7 separate regions of the Homo sapiens genome follow, and all the other regions are linked to region 7. The links are contacts of gene promoters, found by promoter capture Hi-C in blood cells and fetal thymus (Javierre and others, 2016). All regions are on one chromosome and are shown on one strand. The core of a region is centred on a gene start or on the middle of the fragment in contact, and the rest is flanking DNA. Distances in the headings are between cores, read along the strand shown.

The links. Contacts are between HindIII fragments. The CHiCAGO score rates a contact against its expected background, and 5 or more counts as called.
Region 1: a contact is called between a fragment that was not itself captured here and the fragment with the promoter of NAP1L1 in region 7, in 1 of 17 cell types (fetal thymus). The highest score is 5.5, in fetal thymus.
Region 2: a contact is called between a fragment that was not itself captured here and the fragment with the promoter of NAP1L1 in region 7, in 1 of 17 cell types (total CD8 T cells). The highest score is 6.7, in total CD8 T cells.
Region 3: a fragment that was not itself captured here is called in contact with the fragment with the promoter of NAP1L1 in region 7 in 4 of 17 cell types (naive B cells, total B cells, activated CD4 T cells and 1 more); the score reaches 6.9 in naive B cells.
Region 4: a contact is called between a fragment that was not itself captured here and the fragment with the promoter of NAP1L1 in region 7, in 3 of 17 cell types (total B cells, naive B cells and naive CD8 T cells). The highest score is 6.4, in total B cells.
Region 5: a contact is called between a fragment that was not itself captured here and the fragment with the promoter of NAP1L1 in region 7, in 3 of 17 cell types (naive CD8 T cells, naive CD4 T cells and non-activated CD4 T cells). The highest score is 5.7, in naive CD8 T cells.
Region 6: a contact is called between a fragment that was not itself captured here and the fragment with the promoter of NAP1L1 in region 7, in 1 of 17 cell types (total B cells). The highest score is 7.5, in total B cells.

The regions. Positions count from the first base shown.
Region 1 is chr12:77,067,372-77,070,401 of GRCh38, reverse strand. No RefSeq gene overlaps it. Among named protein-coding and RNA genes, the nearest start is that of E2F7, 3.3 kb to the right of the region's middle. The HindIII fragment of the contact is 5,115 bases long and covers 1-3,030 here.
Region 2 is chr12:75,324,285-75,327,119 of GRCh38, reverse strand. CAPS2 (calcyphosine 2) reads left to right here. Exons shown (of 17, transcript NM_001355024.4): 2 at 593-702; 3 at 1,832-1,881. The coding sequence starts at 622. Among named protein-coding and RNA genes, the nearest start is that of CAPS2, 4.6 kb to the left of the region's middle. The HindIII fragment of the contact is 377 bases long and covers 1,140-1,516 here.
Region 3 is chr12:75,380,293-75,383,283 of GRCh38, reverse strand. It overlaps a transcript of CAPS2 not described here. Among named protein-coding and RNA genes, the nearest start is that of GLIPR1L2, 9.3 kb to the left of the region's middle. The HindIII fragment of the contact is 5,361 bases long and covers 1-2,991 here.
Region 4 is chr12:76,792,029-76,794,815 of GRCh38, reverse strand. The region is part of intron 1 of ZDHHC17 (zDHHC palmitoyltransferase 17); the gene reads right to left. Among named protein-coding and RNA genes, the nearest start is that of ZDHHC17, 29 kb to the right of the region's middle. The HindIII fragment of the contact is 6,806 bases long and covers 1-2,787 here.
Region 5 is chr12:75,397,377-75,400,312 of GRCh38, reverse strand. All of the region lies in intron 1 of GLIPR1L2 (GLIPR1 like 2), which reads right to left. Among named protein-coding and RNA genes, the nearest start is that of GLIPR1L2, 7.8 kb to the right of the region's middle. The HindIII fragment of the contact is 8,872 bases long and covers 1-2,936 here.
Region 6 is chr12:76,874,185-76,877,212 of GRCh38, reverse strand. The region is part of intron 1 of CSRP2 (cysteine and glycine rich protein 2); the gene reads left to right. Among named protein-coding and RNA genes, the nearest start is that of CSRP2, 3.3 kb to the left of the region's middle. RefSeq lists an enhancer at 2,269-2,770. The HindIII fragment of the contact is 541 bases long and covers 1,434-1,974 here.
Region 7 is chr12:76,083,296-76,086,360 of GRCh38, reverse strand. It overlaps NAP1L1 (nucleosome assembly protein 1 like 1), which reads left to right and starts at 1,676. Exons shown (of 15, transcript NM_004537.7): 1 at 1,676-1,794. LOC124902970 (a long non-coding RNA gene) reads right to left here and starts at 1,276. Exons shown (of 2, transcript XR_007063379.1): 1 at 1,194-1,276; 2 at 1-150. RefSeq lists silencers at 1,242-1,401, 1,842-1,921, 2,062-2,111, 2,182-2,241, 2,292-2,361 and an enhancer at 1,405-1,946. The HindIII fragment of the contact is 5,148 bases long and covers 1-2,809 here.

The sequences.
Region 1 (3,030 bases), core at 288-2,787, 980 kb before region 7:
TTTTTTCTGTAAAGTGTGATTAATCTTGGGATGTGAAACCCCAAAAGGGTAAAAGACTATTCACAGGTTTGAGAAGTGGTGGAGATTTTTGCAGAGAGGAATGTCAGACATAATCTGTATATACATCCTTCTGAGCACAGCCTTTGTTACTCACTCTTCTGTTACAGCTCCACCCTGCTCATCAGATTCCTCATTTACAGCCTCAACTCCTTCCAAAAACCAGTGACATTGCCACAAACCAGCGAGATGCAGCCCCTTTAAACCTCTGTGCCTACTCTGGAGGGCAGCACACCTGTCCGGCTCTTCCTGTCCTCATTGATGGGACGTGAGGATCCATTTCTGAAATCACTGAGTCAGAAGCATCCAAAAGAATCAATGAAAGAAGAGTACAACTAGCAAGATGCTAAGGAACAACACACTAAGCACTTAAAAAATACTTGATACCCAAGGGCCAATTCCAGATCAAGTAAATTAGAAATCTCTAGGTGTGGGGTTCAGCTGCTGGTATTTTTTTAAATCTCCCCCAGATGACTATAAAGAATAGACAAGGTTGAGAACTACAAGATTAGCACAATACAGAAATGTAGGGAGAGCTGCCATGTAGGTAACACTATACTGTTTCAAAGTCAATGATGTCTCAGGCAGAAATTATTGAGGTAGAGTCATAGGATACTCCAATTGGCACAAAACCTGGTGCGGTAGTTTTAAAATATGTTGAAGAGAAAAACAAACAACCCCATCAAAAAGTGGGCAAAGGATATGAACAGACACTTCTCAAAAGAAGACATTTATGCAGCCAACAGACATATGAAAAAATGCTCCTCATCACTGGTCATTAGATAAATGCAAATAAAAACCATAATGAGATACCATCTCATGCCAGTTAGAATGGTGATCATTAAAAAGTCAGGAAACAACAGATGCTGGTGAGGATGTGGAGAAATAGGAATGCTTTTACACTGTTGGTGGGAGTGTAAATTAGTTCAACCATTGTAGAAGACAGTGTGGCAATTCCTCAAGGATCTAGAACCAGAAATACCATTTGACCCAGCAATCCCATTACTGGGGTATATACCCAAAGGATTATAAATCATTCTACTATGGAGACACATGAAGAGGTTTATTGCAGCACTGTTCACAATAGCAGAGACTTGGAACCAACCCAAATACCCATCAGTGATAGACTGGATAAAGAAAATGTGGCACTTATACACCTTGGAATACTATGGAGCCATAAAAAAGGATGAGTTCATGTCCTTTGCCAGGACATGGATGAAGCTGGCAATCATCATTCTCAGCAAACTAATACAAGAACAGAAAACCAAACACCACATGTTCTCACTAACGAATGGGAGTTGAACAATGAAAACACATGGACACAGGGAGGGGAACATCACATGCCAGGGCCTGTCATGGGGTAGGGGGCAAGGGGAGGGGTAGGGGTAGCAAGGGGAGGGGTAGCTTTAGGAGAAATAGCTAATGTAGATGACCGGTTGATGGGTGCAGCAAACCACCATGCCATGGCACGTGTATACCTATGTAACAAACCTGCATGTTCTGCACATGTATCCCAGAACTTATTTTTATATATATATATATATATATATATATACACACACACACACACACACACACACACACACATATATATATATATATAGAGAGAGAGAGAGAGAGAGAAATATGGCCCCAAATTCTTTGACACTTCTCCCATTGAGAGTGAGGTATATGTCTTCTCCCCTTGAATGTGGATGGATTTTTGACTGTTTCCTCCCAAAAACTGTAGTGGAATTGATGCTATCAGTTCTTAGGCTACGTCACAAAAGGTGATACTATTTCCACTTTGCTACATGACACATTCATTTTGGATCCCAGGAGCCACCCTGGAAGAAGTCCAACTACCTTGAGCTACCAGGATATCTAGACCAGGCCATATGGAGAGGTCACATGTCGAGACTCTTCTTGATACTCCAGCCTAGTTCCCAGCCAACATCAGTGTCAACTGAATTACCGAGAGATTAACAGGTTATGTATGCATTCTGGGACTTAAAAACATCAATATAAATAAGTGTGTTGGAATAATGTCTCTGAATTTGTCCATCAAACATTTATTTTTCAGTTTTCCTCCAAATCTAAGATAACTCTTATAATCAATGAAATTATAAGTGCCTGAAGTGATGTATCCAACTGAGTTTTTTTTGTAACTTGAATAGAAATTACATTTGTATCAAAATAGAAAAAGTACTTTTACTCTAAAAATGTTAGGAAAAGCCCTGTACCGTGAAACTGTCTAACCTCAAAGAAACGATCATTAGTATTTTGAAATATCAGAGAAATGAATGGACTTTAATAATTTGAATGTTGGTCTAGAAGGCTGAATGGTGGGCCCCAAAAAGGTGTATCCATGTCCTAATCCCCAGAACCCATGAAGGAATGTTACTCTGGAAAGAGGATCTTCCCAGATGCAATTAAATTGAAGATCTCAAGATGAGATCATCCTGGACTATCCAGGTGGGACCTAAATTCATTGACAGGTGTCCTCATAGGAGACACACAGGAGAGACTTAACAGACAAAAGAGAAAGCAACGTAACTATGGAGGTAGAAATTGGAGTGAGGCTGCCACGTGTCAAGGACTGTTAACAGCCACCAGAAACTGGAAGAGGAAAAGGACAAGAGCCCCAGAGGGAGTGTGGCCCTGGGAATACCTTAACTTTCCAGAACTGTGAGAGACTAAATCTCTGTCCTTATAAGCCAGTTGTAATTTGTTACAACAGCCATAGAAAATGAATACTGTTGGGAAAAGTATTTCCTTATCTAAACTTCTGCTTCCACATATGTGCAAAATTTAATAAGTTGCAATTTTTTATTGTTTAAACTTCTCATTAGGTTTCTACCTACAAAAGAGATTTCAGTTCAAAATGTTATTCCTATAAAAAATGTCAGATTTTTATTACTATTTTCTTTTGTTTAATGTTTTGCATACTTTTCTCTTTTCAATGTATGACCTAGCAGTGATTTTTTTTTTTTT
Region 2 (2,835 bases), core at 79-2,578, 760 kb after region 7:
ATTATTTTATAGTTCTGGAGGTCAGAAGTACAACATTAGTCTTAAGGGGCTAAAATCGAGCTGTCAACAGGGCAGGTTCTTTCTGGAAGCGCCATAGGAAAATCCATTCCTTGCCTCTTCTGCCTTCAGGAGGCTGCTCATGACCTCTTCCTCCATCTTCAGAACCAGAATGCCTAGCATCTTCACCTCTCTCTGACCTATGCTTCCATCCTTACATCTTCTCTGTCTCACTCTGTTCTTCTTGCTTCCCTCTTACAAGGATTCTGGTGGTTACACTGAGCCCACCAAAGAATCCAGGATAATCTCCCCATCTTAAAATTCTTAATTCAAACACATCTGAAGTCCTTTTTGCCATGTAAGGTGGTATATTTACAGGGTCTGAGGATTAAGAGATGGCCTTCTTTGGGGGCCCATTATTCATACTAACACAGGTCATAATGTAATTGCCCTATAAAAAGTTGATATTGGTAAAAGCACTAGAAGTGATTAACCTTATGATTTCTTTCCAGGTAGACTTGTTAGGTAATTTGTATGACTTATTTAAAATTAGAGTAAGAATTACCATTTAACATTTACTCTACCTTTTTCAAAGTATACTGCATGATAAACACAGGAACTCAAATGGATTTAGAGGTTAAAGGAGTTGCTGCCACTTCTAGGAGCCAAATTCAGCCATTCTTTGGAAGAAAGAAGCCTCTACAAGTATGTGAGCTCTATATAATTTTCTTCTTTCAGGATGACTTATAAATAATTTTTTTACCTTTTCTTCATGTTTTATGACTACTTATATTCACAGATATTTAGGATCAACATTTCCTAGATTTGAAGAATGGAACCACCAAAATTGAAGATAATGATTACTTGAAAAATTGCCACTGCTTGAATTAGTTTTATTTTTTAAAATTAAACTTATTGTATTATTATTGTTATTTAAGAATATTTGTTTAAGGAAAATATAAAAAAAGAAAAATAGTAGAATGGAATTTTTACGGTTGCTACTAATATCACAAAAAAAGCACAAGTCAGATAACATTTCAGAAATAGGGTATAAGTGCTGATGGGTGAATTATTTTCTATTTTCATTAACTTGAAGTTTTCCTAAGACTCATATATATCTTCTATTTCATGGTGGCTAAGCTTGCTGTAATTTTTATGACTTGCAGTTTTTTTGGCAATAAGATTGAATGTTTACAAACACATACATGTTTGTTACTTTCTTTGTCAAACCCTTCACTGTCTTCCCATTACCTTAAAAACAAGGTCTAAGTTCCCTAACTTGTACTATAATGTAACAGCTTGGCCCTACCCCCCCTCACACTCTGGATTTTACCCCTTTCCAAATGCTAACTCTTATCTGGAGGCCTGTGCAGTACAAGTTGTTTCCTAGCTGAACCAATTTTCTTTCTTCTCTTTTCATCTAGCTAACTCCTCCTCATCTTTCAGAACTCCTGTTAAAGGTTGCCTTAAGAAAAAAACAAAACAAACAAACAAAAAAACAAACAAAAAAAAACAAGCTTCCTAAATTCCCTAGAGTAGGTTGGGCATACTGCTATGTAGTTGCTCTGTTATAGACTTTTTTTTCCCATTATTGTTTATTTGAGAGAAAGTCTTCTCCAGCAGAGTGCTATGTGGTTAGGGATTATCTGTCTTACTTGCCTTTTTATCTGTGTCTCAAGCACAGTAGGAAGGGGCTTAATAAGTATTTATTATATAGAATTTACTGAGAAAAATTATAATTAGCTTTATTGCATTGACTTATTGTGTATCTCTTAAAGTATAAAGGGTATATTCATATTTATACTGATTCAAAAAGTTTTTTTTTTAATTAAAGCAAAGGTGGACTTCTGAGTCATGGACAAACCAGAATTCTTGCCCACCAGTGTAAGTTACGTTTCTTCACATTTGGACTGTTTAATGGGCACATATATAACATACATTGACTAGTTAAAAAACAAAGCAAAATTATAAATGTAGCTATGATTGTGAACCACAGAAAAATCTATATGCATATGGATAGCCTGAAAATTACTATACCAAAATTAAAATAGCTGTTGTGATAAGATGGTAGAATTATAGGTAATACTTCTTTGGTTTTTTATTTTCCTTAATATGTTTTACATTTTCCTGAAAAAGTGAAAATATTTGTTTATTTGGAAAATTCAGCTATATGCATTCATTAAAGAGATGTGTAAATTTTTATCCTTGTATAATTCATTTAGTTGGCATCAATTTAAGGATAATTATGTCTGTGCTTTAATTTTGAGGAGTATGACAATTTTATGAATCTTAAAATTATTTTATTTTTGGTTTAGAGTATATTAATTTATGTTTTATGTTGCATGTTATTTTGACTTTTAAAATTTGGAATAATATAATTTTTATATTCTTTCAAGTATTTTAGATTACAGAGCTTTTTTAAAAATAGAAATTAAAAACTTAGTAATTTACTAAGCTGAACCACACAATATTGACATTTCTGAAGATCAAAATGAATAAACATCAACATTTATGTGGTTCTGTGTGATAGATTACCTGTATGCTCATCTTGACATAAAGAATAGAGTTAGGTGCAAGCACTAGATCCAAGATATCGAGTAAGTAACAATGGCTGTGTCAGTTGTGTGCAGAGAAAAGTTTAAGGACTGATTTTCTGAAGGTGTATTATAAGTTTATTGTAAATTTTACTTGTTTATTATAAAGAAATTTGAGCATATATTAAGTTGATTATAGCTTTTACTGATATAAAGGATGTGTAGCAATCAATTTACAAATATTAATCAAATACATAGTCTCTCTCTCGTAGATTCCATGTAGCCAATAGATTTTCACAGAATT
Region 3 (2,991 bases), core at 463-2,962, 700 kb after region 7:
TTCTGTAGAAAGAAGTGGGGTTTGCTGACAATGTTCTGCAAATATTCAATCTTTCGTATCTGTCAGTGAATCAGCTCCCATTATATACTTCATATAAAAAAATTTTAATGCATTATATTCTATGATATATATTTTCAAAAAATTTAAAGAGGCATGTAATACATGAGAATTATTTAATCATAGTTTCATGAAATACGTATTAAATCACAGGTTGTGTACATTTTCTAATAAGGTTTGAATGGTTGTAGATTTTTGAACTTTGAAATTTGGGGCAAAACAGTTTTAAGTTATTTTATATTGAAAGTGATGGAAATAATTTATCACATTCGGTTTCCTGAGGGCATTGGAATTGTTAGAGGGTATTGACAGAGTCATTTATTTCTTTACAAGGAATGTGGAAAATAAGGTTTCATTAAATTATTTAAATTCTGCTACTTATATACTTTTTGCATACCCATTTAATATTTCTGTTGTCATGTATAACAGATATAGCTTTAATTTTAAAAACAAGAGCAATTTTGGGATAAACTTTAAGCCTCTTGCTTATCTCAGATGATTTGTGAGTTTCCTTAAGTTCTCAGTTTCTGTACACTTGTACACTGCACTTGAAATTATTTTTTAAAATTCTTCTTCTTTTTTTTTTTGAGATGGAGTCTCACTCTGTCGCCCAGGCTGGAGTGCAGTGGCATGATCTTGGCTTACAGCAACCTCCGCTTCTTGGGTTCAAGTGATTCTCATGACTCAGCCTCCTGAGTAGCTGGGACTACAGGCATGCACCACCACACCCAGCTAATTTTTGTATTTTTAGTAGAGATGGGGTTTCACCATGTTGGCCAGGCTGGTCTTGAACTCCTGACCTCGGGTGATCTACCCACCTTGGCCTCCCAAAGTGCTGGAATTATAGGCGTGAGCCACCATGCCTGGTCTACACTTGAAATTTTAAGGAAATAATACTCTAATTCCATATGCTTTTTGATTTGGATAAAAGCTAGCAAATTTAAAAATGTATTTTTAATCTACATTTACTGAAAATGATCATGGGATAAGACTGAAGATACTAAAATGTATTATTTTGTTCTCTGTATAGATGTTATTAGAAACATTGTTTTTATTTTATTGACTCTTTCTCATTGTTTCTTTACATACTCGATTGATCTTTTCTATAATTCAAATTTAAGATTCAGATAATTGTGCATGAGAAGCATTAAAGGAGAAAAGCAAAATGATCCACACATAAAAGCCAACTTTGAAAGGTAGAAAGATAGACTTTACTTCGTTAAAATGTAAAATAGGGCAACTGAGAAATTTGCTAGATAAATGTCCAAGGATTAAAATCCCAGATGCACAGGGAGCCATTCAAATTTCATAAGAGGCTGGGTGTGGTGGCTCATGCCTGTAATCCCAGCACTTTGGGCAGCCGAGGTGGGCAGATCACGAGGTCAGGAGATCGAGACCATCCTGACCAACATGGTGAAACCCTGTCTCTACTAAAAATACAAAAATTAGCTGGGCATGGTGACACATGCCTGTAGTCCCAGCTACTCGGGAGGCTGAGGCAGGAGAATCGCTTGAACCTGGGAGGCGGAGGTTGCAGCGGGCCGAGATTGTGCCACTGCACTCCAGCCTGGTGACAGAGCGAGACTCTGTCTCAAAAAAAAAAAAAAAAAAACACTTAAGAAAATGAATAACAGCAGCACCATTAGAAAAATAGAGGAAGAAAATGAACAGGTAATATACCAAAAAAAAAAAAAAAAGTCTAAATAACAGTGTAGTTGAAATATTCATCCTGCATCTACTCTTTTCACATATAGGTATGATGGAGTGTATATAACTAGATTCCAGGAGGAATTTGGACCTCTGGAACTAAAGTATCGTTTGTCGCTGTATTAGTTTGTTTTCATGCTGCTGATAAAGACATACCTGAGATTTGGCAATTTACAAAAGAAAGAGGTTTAATTGGACTTAGTACGGTTCCGCATGGCTAGGGAAGTTCTCACAATCATGGCAGAGGGCTAAAGCCACTTCTTACATGGCGGCGACAAGAGAGAATGAGGAAGAAGCAAAAGCAGAAACCCTTGATAAACCCATCAGATCTCATGAGACTTATTCACTGTCATGAGAATAGCACAGGAAAGACTGGCCCCTGTGATTCAGTTACCTCCCCCTGGGTCCCTCCTACAACATGTGGGAATTCTGGGAGATACAATTCAAGTTGAGATTTGGGTGGTGACACAGCCAGACCATATCAGTCTCTAAAAGACTGAGCCATAAAATTGAGTATAAATCCGAGACTATTTATATTAAAATTTGACTCCTGAATGTACATTACTTCTGTATTCATTAGGTCAATATGAAGTATGGTCATATGTTTGAAACAACTTCCTGTAATCTTTTCATCAAAGGTGAAAATAAGATTCCTAGCCTTTCTTAATAACTCTCAAACAATATATTGGTAAATTTGAATGTAGTTTATGAAAATATGTTTAGCTTTACTGGTAGTTCAAGGAATAAAAATTAATAGCATCTACCTCATTATTGAGGGAATTATATAAGTTATTAGATGTAAGGCACTTAGTGCTTGGCATAGTAATACCTACTGTTAGGTATTACTATTATTAAATTTAAATACTCTTATTTTCACTCATTGAATTCACAAGAACTAAAAATAATTATTAACACTTAGCATGGTGCCAGATATTATGCATGCTTAATAAATGTTTTTTTATATTAGTTTTCATGAGAGCATGCTTAATAAATATTTATTGAGTTATTCTTATAATAATCAATGTAGTTTCCCTAGCTGCAAGAAGCAAACCCAGTGAATATAACTACAGGTGAGTTGCTGGTAGTTTTAGTCTGGAGGACATTGGCAAGTGATATGTTGCTTTCCTGAGAGAAAATGGGAGTTCCACTCGAAGTGATGATAATGGAATTTATTTATTTCCCCTGGTACAGTTAGTGATCACAGGTAAATTTAATTACAGTTCAAAT
Region 4 (2,787 bases), core at 14-2,513, 710 kb before region 7:
AAACTTTAATTTTATTTTCATGCCCAGAGACCTCATTTACTGTACATAATGATTAAATTGTATTCTCAGTTTGTTTCACTGACATTGCCAAATGCGAGCTTAAAAATGTTACTGGAAATTAGACTTTTTTTTTCCAGTAACATATTAAAATTAACCTATGTAAGTATCTGTTTTGTGCCTCCGATAAGGTTGTTTTTATTTCCTTAGTAAAAGGTATCTATTTTTTAAAATATGCCTTTAACTAAACATATCTCAAATAATTCTACAGTGGCAGAGTTATACTCACTAAAGAAAAGGTATATATGAAAATCTCCAACCTGCTTTATTACCTAACAAATTTTGTAATAAAGAACTTTATTTCTCACTTTTAAACAGACTGGATACTGGTTTATCTCTAGGACTAGTACCTTGTCAATGTGACAAATGACAACACTCTATCAAGATAATCACAACTATCAATAGGCCTAGGAGTAACAGTTCTAATTATAAAACATATTTTTAACATGTTCATATAAATAAGCATATCTAACATAGATAATAATTTTTAAGCTAAAAATTTGCTATTATATATTAAATATATTTTCAACATACAAATATTTAGTTCATTAAACTCTTTAAAATCCTGTAATTTGGCCGGGTGCAGTGGCTCACGCCTGTAATCTCAGCACTTTGGGAGGCAGAGGCAGGTGGATCACAAGGTCAGGAGGTTGAGACCATCCTGGCTAACACAGTGAAACCCCGTCTCTACTAAAAAATACAAAATTTAGCCCAGCATGGTGGCAGGCGCCTGTAGTCCCAGCTACTCGGGAGGCTGAGGCAGGAGAAAGGCATGAACCCAGGAGGTGGAGCTTGCAGTGAGCCACGATCGCGCCACTGTGCTCCAGCCTGGGCAACAGAGTGAGACTCTGTCTCAAAAAAATAAAATAAAATCCTGTAATTTTTCCTCGATGTTAATGGAAACCAAGAAGCAATTTAATTGCTATTTCTACCAAGAAAAGCAATACTAATTTAAAAATATGTATGTGTGTCATTGTAACTTTTAAGAACGCAGTAATTCCATTAGAAGCAGCTTGGTATAATAGAAAAAAATCCACGACTGAGAGGCTAATGAATAAAAGTCCGCCACTCCCCTACCTAGGGTACACCTAACAAGTCAATTAACTACTATAGGGTACAGATCTCTCCTTCGTAAAACGGGATTTGGATAAAATAAGCAAAAAGTTCCTCTGAGGTGCCTCAAGGTAAAAGTGGAAGAGCTCAGAGATTTCAAACTCCACACACTCATTCCCTTCTTTTGAGGCAGAGCCTCACTCTGTCACCCAGGCTGGAGTGCAGTGGCATGATCTCAGCTCACTGCAACCTCCGCCTCCCAGGTACAAACCATTCTCCTGCCTCAGCTTCCTGAGTAGCTGGGACTACAGGCACACACCACCACACCTGCCTAATTTTTCTATTTTTAGTAGAGACAGGGTTTCACCATGTTGGCCAGGTTGGTCTCAAACTCCTGGCCTGAAGTGATCTACCACTTCGGCCTCCCAAAGTGCTGGGATTACAGGCAGGAGCCACTGCACTCAGCCTCATTCCCGTCTTAAACAAAGCACTTCATTATTTGTTTTTAGATACTGGGTATTAAAAACTTTAAGCAAATTAAATTTAGCAGAGTTTATCTGAGCAAAGGACAACTCACGAATCTGACAACACTAATAACCAAAAGAGGTTCAGCAAGCTCAGCTTCAGAGCATGAGCAGAGGGTTTCAACAGGCTGAACTTGGAAGCAAAGCAATTACTTGATCAGCCATAGCTAGCTAGGCATTTGCCTTATTTGATCATGATCCAGTAAAAGGTCCCAAGTTAGAGGTCAGTTGGTGATTTCTAACTGATAATGTCTCTAGTTAGACTTAAGTTTGATGTCACTGTTTTCATTGAATTGGGTTTGGGTTTGCTTATGTAGGAACCCCAGGACATGCAGCTTTATACAAGATTTCTTCAATTAAAGGTTTAGCTGCTTTCTAAAAAAAAAGTTCTGAAACTTCTAGATTAGACATTCTCCAAGTTCTAAGGGGAACATAAAATGATTTCATATATTTTTTTAAAATTATAGTCACTTGGAAGATTCTTAACATTATCTAGTTGACAGTCAGAAGGTTTTTTTGTTTGTTTTAATAGTCCTGGCTTTGAAGAGAACTGGAAGGAGAGAAATTACCTCCAAAATCTGCTACTATAGGTAGCAGATAGTAGACAGGAATAGTAGACAGGAATGGGAAGAGCTGGGATAAGCTGAGCTGCGATAAACACTGCAGCAAAGAGAAATCAACATGACAAGACTCAATCTTATACAGCAGGTATAGGGCAAATACTAGTTTATATGCCAATGAGAGATGCCATAATACATGTTTATTTGCATACCTTGATGGGATTATATAACCAATCAACTATTCGCCAAGTGTCTATGTGCAAACTAGTTAACTTTTTAAAATGCTAGACCTATTGTGGTATAAGTGTAATCCGTCTTTGTCCCAGGTTCACGGCACAAGGCTCCTAAAATGCTTAAAATTTCTGAGTGATAGGACTGTTTTTTGTCATTCATTAAAGGTCCCTTTTGACTACACCAGAGTTTATGCCAATGAAGTGACCTGGAGTGGAGCCTATATAGCATAAACTCAGGAGGGGGCTGGTGACTAGAATGACCAAGTGATTAGAGAGCTGGAATTTTCAACTCTTCTTACTGACCTCCAGAAAGGAGAATGAGGTGCTGAATATTAAGTTCTATAAAACCTCCTGAAACAA
Region 5 (2,936 bases), core at 277-2,776, 690 kb after region 7:
ATCTACTAAAAAAAATACAAAAAAAAATTAGCCGGGCGTGGTGGCAGGTGCCTGTAGTCCCAGCTACTCGGGAGGCTGAGGCAGGAGAATGGCATGAACCCAGGAGGCAGAGGTTGCAGTGAGCCGAGATGGCGCCACTGCACTCCGGTCTGGGCAACAGAGCGAGACTCTGTCTCAAAAAATAAAAATAAAAAAATAAAAAACGTTCTCATTCTTTTTTTTCCCCACAGGTGTATGGTATTCTTTTATGTGGGTGAACCACACTTACTTTAGTTAACCCTCAGTGCTGGAGATTAGAGTATCTTTCCAATAATTTGTTAATATTAAATGATGGTACAGTGAATAACCGTTTAGGGATACCATTTCCTTCTTGTATAGTATGTCCTTAGGATAGATACCAGAAATGGGACCAGAGAGCCAAAGAGTAAATACATCTGTAATGTAGTAGGTATTGCCAGATTCTTCTCTACAAGGACTATATCATTTTGCTTTCACACCAGTAGTACATGGAGTAGGCATGGTCTTTGACTTTGACACAAAATCCAGAAGCAATTTTAAAAAACTGATTAGTCAGCTACACAAAAATGTTAAAAAGTCTGAATAGCAAAAAATACATATGTAGATTTAAAAAACTGACAAACTGGGAACATAATTACAACTCATACCAAAGACGAAGGGCTCATTTCCCAAATAAATAATGGGAGAAAAAAAGGCAAAAAAACTAATAGAAAAATAATCATTAAAGGATACTAACAGATCCTTATTCACATGAAAGGATACACAGCTTTGCTTATAATAAGAGAAATAAAAATCACAGATCATATTTTACCTATCAGGCTAGTAAAACTCCAAAGTTCAACAATAGTTTTGTTGTCTTGTCTGTGGGGAATTGTTGACTAGTTGGAATTTATATTGATGTATGGATGAAGCAATATTACCTTTTTCAAATGACTACCCAGATTGATCAACACCAATTTATTAAAAAGTCTATCTATAGCTCACAGATTTGAGATGCTACTTTTATCATATGCTAAACACTCATATATTTGGGTTATTTCTGAACTCTATATCTTTCAATGGTATATCTTTTAACATACTAATACTGTATTATTTTACTTAGTGAGGCTTTATTATATGCTATAAAATCTAATATGTTCAATAACCCTCATTTTTCAAAATATCCTGGCTATGCTTATTTATTTTTAAAACAACCTGAATGTCCATCAATAAAGGAATAGGTAAAAAAGGTAGTACATTTAAGGGATAAATAGCATAGCAAATAAAACTGAATTAACTAGATTTATATCAACAAATAAATCTCAAATGTATAGTTTTGAATGAAAAACCAAGTAACATGATAAATTCCACATAATGCCACTTATAGAAATATAAGACGGAAACCTCCAAACATTGTGTTTTTGGTCTAGATAATCACATATATATTCAAAACCTTAAAAAATGTATTAGAATGATTCATATCAAACTCATAAAGGTTATTTTCTCTGGGGATGGAGAAAGGGAACATAACTGAAGTGGCTGTTAGAAAATGTTAACATTGACTGCACTGTTCTTTCTTTTTTTAAAAAAGGAGGAAGATTTATTTGTAATATTAAATTAAAAATTGATATTACATATAAAACTACAGCCCATTATCTGGTACATGAGAGGAGTCTAAGTCTTGAGCCTTCTCCTAGTACTACCATGTCAGGTTAGAATTAGGAATCACTCAGCCCCAGAACAGCTCAGAAAAAGAAGGGAGGGATTCTGTGCTCCTAGCATCCAAGAATGTAAGAAAGTTGAAGCAACAAAGAGGACGAAGCTAAGACACAATCTTCTAATATTACAAACCCATAAAAATGGGAATAAAATGTTTAGTTTAAATCCTATGAAATTGCTTGCGTTTTCTAGGTCAAAAATGGTTGAAGAGCAATTCATATAATTCAATCTTTATATGATAAAAGTTTTTTTTTTTTTTTTTTTTTTTGAGATGGAGTCTCATTCTATCGCCCAGGCTGGAGTACAGTGGTGCGATCTCAGCTCACTGCAACCTCTGCTTCCCGGGTTCAAGCGATTCTCCTGCCTCAGCCTTCGGAGTAGCTAGGATTACAGGCGCCTGCCACAACGCTCGGCAATTTTTGTATTGTTAGTAGGGACAGGGTTTCACCATGTTGGCCAGGCTGGTCAGAACTCCTAACCTCAAGTGATCTGCCCGCCTTGGCCTCCCGAAGTGTTGGGATTACAGGCGTGAGCCACCGCTCCCGGCATTTTTTTTTTTTTTTTTTTAAATCCACAGCTGAGCTCAAAGGAAGGAAAGGTAATACTCAGGTGCCAGAAATGAAGAGAAAAGTTAAAAGTCCGAGTGGTGAACTCATGTGCCTAATCGGAGGAGAGGAAATATCAGATTAGATATAAATGCCAACAATATAGGAAGAAGATGTAGCCATAGAACCATCTAAGACAAGTTCTGGGACTGAAATATTTGCGGAAAAATCAGGATGCCGACTTCTTCCTAAATGAAGCAGACCACCAAACCCTTCCTAGAAGTCTGAGGAAGTGACAGAAAGTCAGATGGAAAAAAGTCATGTCATGTGAGAAATCAGTTCTAGATCTATCCTATGCCTACAAGTGGACACTATACTTACATTGCCTATATATGCTGAGAATACCCAAACAAATTTTAAATATCAAAACTTAACACATTATAAATATAAAAAATATAAATGTAAAACTGACTGTAACAGGGGAGTAAGGCAAAAGCTAATAAAAATTAGTCTGTAGCAATATTTATTTTTCCACTATTTGGACAATATGGGACTCTTTCACACACACACAATCTCTGCTGAAAATAAGCATAGGATAGAAAATTATAAACATGACAGAGGCTCAGTAGCTAAAACAAGAGAACTGGCACCCAAAGAAACTAAAATAATAAAGCA
Region 6 (3,028 bases), core at 455-2,954, 790 kb before region 7:
AGTTTTAGAAGCCTGAGTCCAGAGGCAACTCTGACACTAAATTGCTATAGTGATCTGGGTCTCTAGGTTTTCTTCTTTGTCAAAAGTGAGGTGAATCAAATGAACCCCAAAAGGGAGCCCCCTATGGGAGAGGAGGCATGGCTGAAAGGGGGAGGAACGAAGCCAGGCAGGACCAAATTCACACCTCAACTCCAGTACCCATTGGTTTGATGCCCTTGGGCAAATTAACTTTACTCTTTGGCCTCAATACTTCATCATGTAAAATGGGTGTAGTGGCACATGCCTTGCAGGGTTGTCATAAGGCCTGTTGATACTTGTACAAAGCCCAGCCCAGCCTGGGAGTAGTTCCTTGTAATTAGACAAAGTTGTGCACTTGGTTGAATATATGTGGGAAAAGGCTATCAGTGAAAGTCTGTTTCAGGAGAGAGCTGGCTCACACCTGAAGAGCGTTTCCTAGACCTTGCCTGGAGGCCAGCTTTCTTCTCTGTGCAGATGTTCACAGGTTTCCTCAAGGCACCTTACCCTGACTGCCAGCATGCCATCCCTTGGGTTCTGTTGGGTGGGGATCCCCAGACACCTCTGGATCTTTGATTACCTAGGTGGGGTTTCTGACTTTTTATATCATGGCACTCCTGTGAGGCCTCCAGACCCCTTCTCAAAATGACGTAACATAAAGTATGTGGTACCAAGTTCCCCAACCCCCAGAATTAAAAGGAATTGTGGCCTTTGGGTTAAGAATCCTGAATTAAGGGAATATTTCTCAGTCTGGATAGTGGAGAAGCTGGGCACAATTTCTTTTTTTTATATTTTTTCCTTTTCAAATTCCTTTTTACCACAGGCACAATTTCTGATTGTTAAAAATTTTATTGTTGTAAGTCACAGAGGAAGAACTAATAGAAGTACATGGTGAATGATCTGGAAAGGATATCAGGTTCCTTGTTTTTTTGTTTACAATCTTATTGTGCCAACAATACTATTGTCTTCGACTAATAAGAACAGACACCATGTAATACATTAGGGCCAAATTACTTCCCAGTTCACTATAGGAAAGAGGGCTTCATGGTGGTTTCACAGTACTTCCAAAAGAAAATAAGCAGAGAGAATTGAATCCTCATCCAGCACACGGCAGTGCAGGAACTACTCAGCTTAAGAAGAACCTATGCCATAGCCATGGAGGTCGGTACTACATCTGTATTGCTACCAGGGGTTTAGTTTAGCAAAACATCAGTGAAATAATTTTGAATTGGAATTTTATTGGTATTCATTTTTAAGTTGAATTGATAATTTTATTTTGGTTTCACAGTTATGAGTCATTTAATAGCTCTATGCCTCAGTTTCCCCACTCATAAAATGAGAATAGTGGTAGTGCTTACTTTAGTTGTTATGAGGATTAAATGAGGTAATATAAACATAAGTAAAGCATATATTAAGCTTTATAGAAGTATTTGTAATTATTACCTGTCATGTGGCAGACACTATTCTAGGTGTTTTGCATATATTGTTTAATCTAAAAACTGCCTTATTGTATAAATAAGCATTGTCCCCATTTTTAAAATGAGAAAACTAGCAGATCAAATGAACAACCTGTGATCATTTGGCAAATAAACAAGAGTCTCAGCATATATATCTAGGTCTGATTCCATGAAAAAATCGTGCAAATATTAAATTGTTTGAATAATTAAATAACTTGTAGTTTTGCACAGATTGTGGATTGCTATGGCAGATGTTGGGGATCAGGGTTACTGAGCTTATAGCATAGTTGCATTTTAATTACAATATGGGATTTGGCAGATAGTGATTCAAATCTGTGTCGAATTTTGCTGCACTCTAAGTTGAAGACACGAGTGGTAGCAGAATACAGAAGTAGTAAGAATGGTGAGGCTGAGGTACACACAGGAGTGTTCACTAGATTAGAAGAGAGTTTTCCTTCAGTGGGGTTAGATTTAGGTTAGCAGAGAGGGGTAATAAAAAGCTTTTTGGTTGAAAGTAGCAGTTTGGGTGTGAGAGTGGTGCACAGAGACCACTTACTGACCGCTAGTTGGATGGAGAGGAAGGTGTGTAATTTGTGTGTGTAATTTGGTAACTCAAGGATTGAGAATTCTCAGGTCATTTGAATAGTCTCAACCCTTAATGTTCTGTGCCTGTCAGATATGGGAGTTTTGAGGAAAGCTTGTGGTTCTGGAATCAAAACATGAGCCTGATTTGTTTCTTTGGAGATCTGTGACCTCAGCAAGTCACCCAACTCATCAGTCCCCATCCTTTTTGGCACCAGGGACCAGTTTTGTGGAAGACAGTTTTTTCATGGATGGTGGGTGGATGGTTTTGGCATGAAATTTTGGGATGAAACTGTTCCATCTCAGATCACCAGGCATTAGATTCTCGTAACGAGTGGGCACCTAGATCCCTCACCTACACAATTCACAATAGCGTTCCCGCTCCTATGAGAATCTAATGCCTCTGCCGATCTGACAGGAAGCAGAGCTCAGGTGGTAATGCTCGCTTACCCTCCACTCACCTCCTGCTGTGCAGCCTGGTTCCTAGCAGGCCACAGACCAGTAGCAAGTAGCCTGAACACAAAACACAGCCATCGGTCTGTGGCCTGGGGGTTGGAACCCTTGACCTAACGGACTGAACTTGGTATATTCAGGCCCCGAGTGCTCCTAAAGGAAAAGGAAGCCCGCCCATTTGTGGAGTACAGGCTCTTTGCCAGGTACTTTACAAACTTTATCTCATTAAATCTTTACAACCGCCTATAAGATAGTTCTCATCCATTTCCAAGTTACCTCTGAGGAAGTTAAGGCTCAGAGGTTAAGGAAATTTGGCCAGGATCACATAGCTGATAACTAGCTTTGACAACCAGCTTGTGTCTATCTGATTCTAAGCTCCGCACTGTTTCTTTTATATCTGGCATGTCTAAAAGGTGGCATGTGTACTGCGGTATTTCCATGGCAAAAATAATTAATCACAGTTCTCTTGATTGTAGAACCTGGACTGAATTTCAGAATCTTTCTCAACGTAGTTCCAGGAA
Region 7 (3,065 bases), core at 427-2,926:
TTATTGAAATTAATGTGTCAAATTTATGTTCAAACTGAGCACTGGTCTACCTTGTTTATGTATAGTGGGTTCTTCCTGAAGATCCATTATTGATGCTATTATGCTCCTTGTATCATTACATCATTGTTGAGAAGGGTGTACAGGAATAGGCTATGAGAACAACAAAGGAATTGTATATGAAAAACTAAAATGAATGAATAAACAGAGTCGTCTGCAGTATAGAGTGGGAAGGCAAATAATTTCAATGAGGTTCTGGAGGGCCAAGGAAAACATTGTATCCCCTAAAACGGAAGATAAAGTTGCTAAATGTGTGGATTACAATAGGGGATTCTAGGCAGTTTGAAGTTTCAATAAATGCAAGATTTAGAGAAGAGGTTCTCAAACTTTGTGGTCTTAGGATTCCTTTACACTCCTTTAAAAGTTGAGGACCCCAAAGAACTTTTATGTGCATTACTGATACTGATATTTATATCAGAAATTAAAAGTGAGAAATTTTAAGAGTATTTCATTTAAAAACAATAAAGCAATCAAATATTAACAAAAAATAATTTTTATATGAAAAATAACTACTCCCCCTTGCCCCCAAATCGAGTTTTTGCAAATCTCTTTAACGTCTGGTTTAACCGCAGATGACTGGATTCTCCTATCTGCTTCTATTTTCAGTCTGTTTCCTTATCACATGTCACGTAGCCTCCGGAAAACCCCACTGTACACTTGTGAGAGAATGAGAATGCAAAAGGCAGTCTTGACATTAATATGGAAATAGTTTTGACCTTCCCCATGAAAGGGTCTGGGGACCCTCAGACCATACTCTGAGAACAACTTTTTGAGTTAGTATTAGTCAATTCATCATCACTTGAAAATTAGCTATGAGGTTTTACAAGCCTGAGGATTTAATGTGATTTACTTTTTCAGAAAGATGAAACAACGGACGTACTGAGTGTCCTCATTATAACGCATCCAGAGAATGCACAAATATGCCATTTTCATCCGTCAAAAGAACTGAAGCCGAACTGACGGACTGTACATCAGTTACGAGGATGTGGCGGGGGGTTGGGGGGCAAAGGATGACGAGCACCCCCTAAAGGCGCGGAGACCCGCTGGCATAGGAGAAGCAAAACTGTCAGAAGAGGCCGCCGAAGTGGTCTAGAGGAAAAAACTGTTTTTCTTAGGCGGGGAAGGAAAACGGTTACCGGGGGCCGGCGAGTTGCAGGAATTAGGCCTTGACAGGGAGCGTCCGCCGTCTAGGCTGCGGCGAGCGAGGGACCAGGCGACTGGCGCCAGCCCTGAGCGTTCCCAGCACAACGCCGAAGGGGGCGGGGCGGGCCGGGCGCCGGGCACGCGGGCCAGGCCTTCCCCACAACTGATGGGGTTGAAATTTCCTTTCCGGCTCAGCAGGGAGAAAAGATATGGTGGGGTGCTTAACAGAGGAGGTTAGACACCGGCGGGAACCAGAGGAGCCCAAGCGCGGCGCCTGGGCCTCGGGGCTGCAGGAGTCCTCGGTGGGGGTATGGAGGTCGCCGGGGAAGGAGGACGGTTCAGTTGCTAGGCAACCCGGCCTGGACCCGCCTCTCGCTCGCGTTGCTGGGAGACTACAAGGCCGGGAGGAGGGCGGCGAAAGGGCCCTACGTGCTGACGCTAATTGTATATGAGCGCGAGCGGCGGGCTCTTGGGTCTTTTTTAGCGCCATCTGCTCGCGGCGCCGCCTCCTGCTCCTCCCGCTGCTGCTGCCGCTGCCGCCCTGAGTCACTGCCTGCGCAGCTCCGGCCGCCTGGCTCCCCATACTAGTCGCCGGTAACGGATGGGGGCCTGGAAGGGAAGGGGGAACGTGGTGTTGGCTGGGCGGCCTGCGCAGATGGGAGGGCCGGAGGGATGGAGGGACTGGGAGCCGGGAGTCGGGGCCGCTGGCCGCCCGTGGCCTCCGGGGTCGTCCTGTGAGGTCGGACAGGACCGCGGAGTCCGGACCCCGGAGCCTGAGAGGGGCCCCGGGGCCGACCAGCGCTTTTATCGGGGACGGCTGAGGCGACGTAGGGGTTGGCGCGGCCTGGAGGCCTAAGGTTCTCTGAGCTCCACCGTCTTTTCCGCGTGGACCGGAGCGAGGCCGCGGTGACGCCCGGGTGCCCTGAGACTCGGCTGCGCCGCGAGGACCGGGAGGCCCCCGGCGTACGGGCCGGGCCGAGTGCAGAGCCGGCCGCCTCTTGGACACCCCCCTGCTTTTCCCTCAAAAATAATACCAGGAGGGAGGCCGCTGGGAGATGAAAAGAACGGCGGAGGCTGCGAATTCCGACGGGAGGGAGGGGCTGTGGAGGGACGAGTCCCCGAGGCGGGGAGGGGGCGGGGGAGGCTGCGACGCTCCCGGGCTCTCCGCCCATTGGGGGCGGCCGCGCGGGGAGGGGAAACCCCCGGCGGCTTCGCTCCACACGTGGTAATGGGCTTCATGGCCACTGGCTGGGCCTGGTTGGAGACCCTTGCCCTCGGTCTGTGCTTACTTTGAAAGTTGTAGAGACGGTGGAATGTGAAAAGGAAGGGTAAGCGAGTAAGCCCTGTCCCTGGGTTTCAAACTCTTCCCTGCTTCTCTTTGGTCTTAATCTTTTTATTGGTACCAGAGATTGTGGATGTTAGCTGATGATAAGGAAGGGCCTCCACTGCTAGTATTTTAAAAAGTTAACGCGTATATAGCGCTTATATTAACTGTTATTAGCAAAAGGTTGTTATTGTGTTTCCCAGGTACTGTTAGATGGGTGTCTTGATCAGGGTTTTTTATTTGGGGAGTATTGATCCTGATCGATCTAAACCCCTAAACCAAGCTTGTCCAACCCGCGGCCCAGGACGGCTTTAAATGTGGCCCAACACAAATTCATGAGGTTTTTTTTTTTTTTTTTTTTTTGGAAAAAAAAGCTCATCAGCTAGTTAATGTATTTTACGTGTGGCCCAAGACAGTTCTAGTGTGGCCCAGGGAAGCCAAAAGATCGGACCACCCCTGCAAACGGTTCTTAGATGAAAATAAAATGTTTGGCCCTTTATGACTTTAATTGTTCTTGGCTGTCTTATAAATTAGTTCCTTT